Regions from separate parts of the Homo sapiens genome. Here region 1 is linked to region 2. The links are contacts of gene promoters, found by promoter capture Hi-C in blood cells and fetal thymus (Javierre and others, 2016). All regions are on one chromosome and are shown on one strand. Each heading gives the region's core, a stretch centred on a gene start or on the middle of the fragment in contact. The rest is flanking DNA. Distances are from core to core; before and after follow the strand shown.

Evidence for each region. The method cuts DNA at HindIII sites, captures the fragments that hold promoters and counts their contacts. A CHiCAGO score of 5 or more calls a contact.
Region 1: a contact is called between a fragment that was not itself captured here and the fragment with the promoter of FLRT3 in region 2, in 6 of 17 cell types (megakaryocytes, endothelial precursors, fetal thymus and 3 more). The highest score is 22.7, in megakaryocytes.

The regions. Positions count from the first base shown.
Region 1 is chr20:15,236,225-15,239,747 of GRCh38, forward strand. All of the region lies in intron 6 of MACROD2 (mono-ADP ribosylhydrolase 2), which reads left to right. Among named protein-coding and RNA genes, the nearest start is that of MACROD2-AS1, 310 kb to the left of the region's middle. The HindIII fragment of the contact is 1,732 bases long and covers 1,010-2,741 here.
Region 2 is chr20:14,336,281-14,339,409 of GRCh38, forward strand. It overlaps FLRT3 (fibronectin leucine rich transmembrane protein 3), which reads right to left and starts at 1,332. Exons shown (of 3, transcript NM_198391.3): 1 at 1,124-1,332. The region is part of intron 3 of MACROD2 (mono-ADP ribosylhydrolase 2); the gene reads left to right. The HindIII fragment of the contact is 777 bases long and covers 584-1,360 here.

The DNA of each region.
Region 1 (3,523 bases), core at 626-3,125, 900 kb after region 2:
ATCTCCTCAGAGGGCACAGAGGTACACAGGTTATTGTTACTGGGAGTGACAAGTGACAGGACAGGCAGCAGAGTCGAGGAGGAGGGCGGGCATGGAATGATAGTAAATTCACAGGCTGTGCCTTGGAAACAGATAGTTATACAACCAAACCCACATTGACAGATCCTGCACAATTTGTGTCTTCTGGTGGCCACACCAGAGAGATGATTTGAGTTAGAGGGGTGAATGAGATCAATCATTGAGCCATGAAATATAGTAATAAGAATAGCAAATGTTTCTGAACTCCCACTTGGTGCCAGGCACTGTGTTTTAGTCATTAATTCTCAAAACAATCCTGAGTTAGAAAATGTGATTTCTTCCATCTTAGAGATGAGGAATATGCACCAGAAGGAAACTGCCTTCCCTGTGGCTCAATTCCTCATCCAAGGATATGAGCCAAAACCAAGGTGATGCATATCGTGATTCTGTTTCTCCACTAGCTAAGCATTATGTTGACGACCGTAACTCCATGCATTCTGTGGGCTATTACACTAACCTGCCATCTGTAGGTTGGACCTGTAACACTACTGGTCTTAGCTCAAGTGAATTAAGGTCTTACCTTGAACAAAAAGTTGAGGTGGGATTTAAACTGAGGTAGTCTAAATCTAGTGGCCTAAGCCACTGTGAAGTTCCTTTTTCTTTCCTCCATTATTATGTGCCTTTTTTTGTCTAAACCAGTGGTTCTCAGTGGGTGTAGCACTGCCCTCTAGGGACCATTTTGTGAGGGTGGTTTTGGGCAGTGACAACAACTAGGGAGTGCCACAAGCATTTTGTGGGCAGGGACAGGGATGTTGTGACATGTGGTCTGGCCAAGCCCACATGGGAAAACTGTCCCTCCTCCCACACAATGTTTTAACGTTTTGCCAGACAGTCATATAAGTGAAAACCTGTTTATAAACACCAAGATACATCAAAACAAAGCCTCTCTCTCTTTTTCACTGTATCCTGGACTATCATGAAAATTAAAGGAAGCTTGTACTTAGTTTGCTTAGAACTTTACCAAGAGTGCCTGAGAAAATTATGCTACAGATGGCCATGCCCAAGCAGCAGGAGAGTTTTTCACACCTGGTTGAGTCCACATTTAGAGAATTTTTTTTGTAGTGATTCTACGTAGTGAAGCAAACATCTTCCTTCTTCATTGCGTGTTCTAGTGTATTCATGCCCTTGTCTTTACATGTTGAAAATAGAATTTTACTATAAATACTTTCATTTTAAATCATTTTCATATCACACTTATGGCACTCTATTGATTTTTTTTAAATTGATGTGTTGTTTTCATTTGGCTTCCCTTGGGAACAGACCCTGAGCCAAGGTGTTGTGTGCACGTGCTTTCTATAGGAGGTGATGACAGGGAACAGCGCAGAGGAGTGGGGATGTGAGGAAGGGAAGAAAAAGCAGCCAGGAGGAGTGGGAGTGTTATAAGTTGGCAGTGTGGACAAGTGGGGCTCTGTCTTGCTGGGGAGCTCTCAGCAACCATGTAGAACATGCCTAGAAGTGGTCCCATCTGAGGGAGGAGAAAAGCTGGACTATTTTTTTTTTTTATCTTTCCCCCTTCATCAGCTGGCTGAGGACTGCTCCTGGGTCATTAACTTCCCAGCATTTCTTATCTGCCCGCTTGGGCAGGCAGAAGGAAAAAGCTCAGGCAGAGAGTGACAGCAAGGGTATTTGCTAGAAGATGCTGTGGATGGGCATGTGCTAGAATGATGAGAACTGGGCAGATATGGGTGGGGCACTGATGCCTGTTTCATGTGTGCAGATGAGTGTTAATATTGATAAATGTCATTTCTGCATAGCAAGGGGACTTTACAAAATATTTGTTATAAAAGGGTTTGCTGAGCCTGATAGAATTGAGAGCATTGGTTTAAGTTAAACAGAGTTTCTAATAGAGCAAAGCTACATTGAATATGCTAAACACAGGTTGCTCAAAGATTTTTATTCTTAAAGTTAGGCATCCAAATTATCTGCTTCTTTAAGCATAGTGTGATATAGATGTCATAAAAATGGTAATTGATGTGACTGGCCTTATATCCTATAGAATACATGGTCTTATGAAAGTGAATGTAATGCTTAGCTAATAGAAAAACAATATCACGTGTTGTGTCACCTTAGTTAAAGTTTTTTCAAGATCTCATAATCCTAACCTTTGATTCATCATGCAAATTACGGAAGAGTTGGCCACCCAAGGTTGAATGCATGTAAAGTTGTCCATCAATCAGAAGACACATATTAGAGGTGAGCAATTTAAGCAGGAGTCTACCTTTGATTTTATTCTAATATAAAGTTTCTTTCAAATTATGTGTTCTTTCAATGATTTGGGAAATATATTGTCATATATTTCCTTCAAAAATCTTACTTTAGGACCGTGATCAATTCTTTTTGTAAGAGTGTCTGAAACTTTTTGCTTTATTTCATCTACAATTTGAAAGAATTATTTTTAGTCACTTGTATATTCTGCAGATGTAAGTCTACTAGCAAGACCAAGAAAACTATGTTTAAAATGAAAGTATAAAACATCTCAATTTGGCTGGATTTGTCAACATAATTATTTTCTGTTCTTTTATCAGGCTAGGGAACATTCTCAGGAAAATCATTATTGGTTTCTACAACAGTGTCTTCCAGAGGAAATACTGGCCTAGCACACTGTCAAAGAGAGTATATTACAGTGAAATTTGTATAGAAACAGTAAAGAGATTTGCAATGCAAGCTTTCATCTTGAGTGCTTTATTTTTCCCTGACCTGAGCGGCAGTTATTAGATCACTGTATCATGAGGAAATAGTCAATTGAAGACACGGACCACAGAGTCCCAAGCCTGACATTAGGTTTGAACAATTGGGCAATTTTGGCATATATCTAGAGGGTTAATAGTATAGAGCAAAGGCAATGGCTTTAAACCAAACATTTTTTCTTGCAAATGTTCAGATTTTTTTTTTTTTTTTTGGAGAGCAATTGCAATGTATGGAATCTAAGCTATTCTTAAGGTGTTGAACTCAGAAACCAAAGGAGAAAGAACAAGTAAAAACAATAAAAAATTTAAAATAAAAACAAATCTGTCAGTGGAAAGAAAGCTTTCTTGACTTGTTTATGTACAATTCAATGGAGTTGCAAAGAGGATTTTTTTTAATGGAAAACATGTCACAGATTGGGTTCAAGCTGCACTTTAGCTATTTTTGTTTGTTTATTTTATACACACACAAACACATACCCTTCAAAACTGTGCAAAGTGAAATATTTGCTTTCCTGGATGTCTTATCAAAGTGGTATAGTTTGAATTTATAATTATGAATTAAGTTCAGCAGTATATTAAACACCTAGATTTCAGCCCATACGAGTAACTTTAGTGCAGTCTCTCCATCTCTTCTGAGCCCATGTTCTGAAAATTTCCCTGCTCCCAGTATACTAGCAGGTAAGCTATCCCGGAGGATGCACAACAGAAAAGCTTATAGACCAAATTAAGAGGCATGACTCACATTGACTCAAGGAGAA
Region 2 (3,129 bases), core at 82-2,581:
CCTTATTATTAAAACCATTAGAGATTTTGGACTAAAAATTGAAAAAAAAATCAATTTTTTTTCTTTTAAATTCTAAATAAAATAATAAAAACAAACCCCCCAGATGTTGAGAAGACATGGATGGGCCTGTTGCACTCTTTACCTATATGCAACCATTTTGTTTCAGACCTAATTCAGTGAACAAAATTTTTTGAGAAGATACATTTAACTACTTTTTCAAGCTTTGTAGTATAAATGCATTTCTTCCAATATAAGATTTTCCTATTATAAGTTGCAAAGAATGGATCCTCTGCAAAACCCACTTGATAAGGGCTCTACTCATTTATTTTTCTTTCCTGCTACCCCAAACTCACTGCATACATCAGGCATAGCTTCCAGGGTGAGCTTTGTTAGTTTTTCTGAGTAGACTTAGCCATTTACTATGCTAGTCACATACTTCACTTGCCTAAGCAATGGATTTTGGTGTTCTATTGAAGAGGGAATATGGTTTGGAAGAGTGTCTCCCCCTCCTCTGAGTTCAATTTACTAGTTGAGATTTGCAAGCCTGAAATGCTTGAAGCAGCTCAGGCACGATAGCAGTGCAAGCTTTAAAATCTAGGTGTAGCTGTTAATCCTTTACAGAGGCACATAAGTCTCCAGGAGTAGCTCGGCTAGCTGTGAGCAAGATGTATGCTTTTCATGTACTGCGTACTCATGGGCTGAGGGATTATTGATTTTCTTTCACAGTTGTAAAAACAGCAATTGGTGATCATCCCACACGTACAGTACACACCAAGTTGCTTTCCTATCTGTGAAGAATCTCCTTGTATTCTTTAATATTTAACATTGAACTTTCCAACTTGCTGTTTTCCATAAGGCTCTTTTCACATAGCAATTACTCAAGACAGAAAATAGCCACTTACTATCTTTTATAAATGAAAGAAGGTTCTAAGAAACTTCTTACATTCAGCCATGATAGTGAAATTTTTCATTGCTGGCTTGCACGCACATATATTGCTTGTTGTGGTGACAGAGCAAACGTTCCTATTTGGATTTCTCATAGTATCAAGTCGTTTCTTTCTAGAGAGTAAAACCAAGCAAACTTTCTGGGACAATCATAAGAAAAAACATGGAAAACACTTACCAGGAAGACGAGAAAAAGCAATCCTATATACACTGCCGCTATAGCTGTAATTCCATTGACAGTGAATTGGAGTAATAGCCCTCCCCCGTCTCCCAAGCTCTGCGTCCAGTCCACACAAAGCCCACGGCAGCTGCAGGCTGAGCTTGTCCTGCTTCAGATCACTCCTACACTGAGGAGTGAGCGAGGGAGAGCATTCCAGTTTACTGCACACAGCCCACCTCCAAGTCTGAAGTTTAAAGCTTCACCTCGCAGTGGCTGAAGAAGGGGGTGATGTCATAGATGGGCAGGACTTAGCCAAGATCTTGTTCAGTGAGGTAACTGGATAATCAGACAGATGAGCTTTGCAAACGCTAGAGGGGGCGAGAGCAGCCAAAATGAAGCATCAGCCTGCCAAAGCTAGGATGCCATTTGGTTTGTAGGCAGCCCTTTGGAATCTCAACATTTTCTAAAGTTTACTACAAGGCAGTGGTAGCATACTTATGTATTTTTTTTAAAAAGCATGTTAGAAAGATATTTTTAAGATCACAATAGAAAAAGACAGGCTTTGTCTTATTTTTAAACCATCTGTATTGAAAAGAAGTTAACCAAAATCAAATTAGTTTTATTATTCACTAGCTAAAATAATGTTATAATTGTGGAAGATGTATGCCAGTAATCCCAACTGTGAATGTTTATTCAACATATGAATAAACAGCAGATTCAAATATATACATCAGGGCTGGGTGTGGTGGCTCACGCCTCTAATTCCGGCACTTTGGGAGGCCGAGGTGGGAGGATCACCTGAGGTCAGGAGTTCGAGACCAGCCTGACCAACATGTAGAAAAAATTAGCTGGGCGCCCGTAATCCCAGCTGTTTGGGAGGCTGAGGCAGGAGAATCACTTGAACCCGGGAGGCAGAGGTTGCAGTGAGCCAAGATTGCACCATTGCACTCCAGCCTGGGCAACAAGAACGAAACTCCATCTCCAATATATGTATATATATACACGTGTCACTGATTCATTTAGTTATGGGAAGGGCAATAGGAATGCCAAAAGATTTTTTTAAATGGTATTAAATGGTCTGTTCTTTTGGAGGCGAAGAAGTTACTGTTCTCTATGTTTTAGAAAATGAAAGTATGTTTTATGTACTTCTGCTACGTGTTTATATTATTTAAAATGGATTATTTATATTTAACGATCCCCCAATAAAATGTTTTTAAAAAATTTAATAGAATATTTTCCTTTCTAAATGTTTTTGCTGATCTGAGCATGGGTTTAGATATAAACATCTTAAGAAAAAAATCTTTCAGGGTGGTTTGCCTGGATTGAAATTATTTTAGTTTAATTTAGGTACATGAATAAACACTGGACAATTGTAAGACGTGGAGATTATAAATTTCTATGCCTAATTAACAGAATTATACTTGTATTTTTAATTATGATTTTTGTAGACTGGTTTCTGCTATTTGGTCAACAATTGCTTTGTGCCCGTAAGTTTTCCATCAAATAAGTGTATTTCACTTGTTCATGTTGGTGGTAAGAACTTAGCTTTTATATTTACCTGGAGGACCGTTGTCTTAAACTAATATCTTTATTTGCTCTATTCTTAGAGGTGCATGACCTTCTCCTTTGTCCTTTCTCAATTTTTCCCTGCATGTTTATTTCTGAAGAAGGCCAGCTAATAGTCTTTCCCAGGACTATTTGATTGTGGTCTCTTCATTAGCTTCATTTAGTTTATCTATTTATATATTTGTTTGATAACAGTTTGACCTGAGTTCCCTTCCAAGAATGGGTGATATCAAAGTAGGTGAACCCTTGATAAGAAATGTATTGACCCTATTGTTCTATGATTGCACTTTTGTGGGCCTCAGAGGACAGACCCATTAAATCTAGGAGTTTTAGATTCTAATGTCCATTGAAAAGCCAATTTCTTTGAACTGCTAGGTAGTACAATTAAACTGATATGCAGCAGCTGAATTTTGGGAGGAAAGGGAGGTGGATATTTTTCTGTTACTATGAAACAAAGA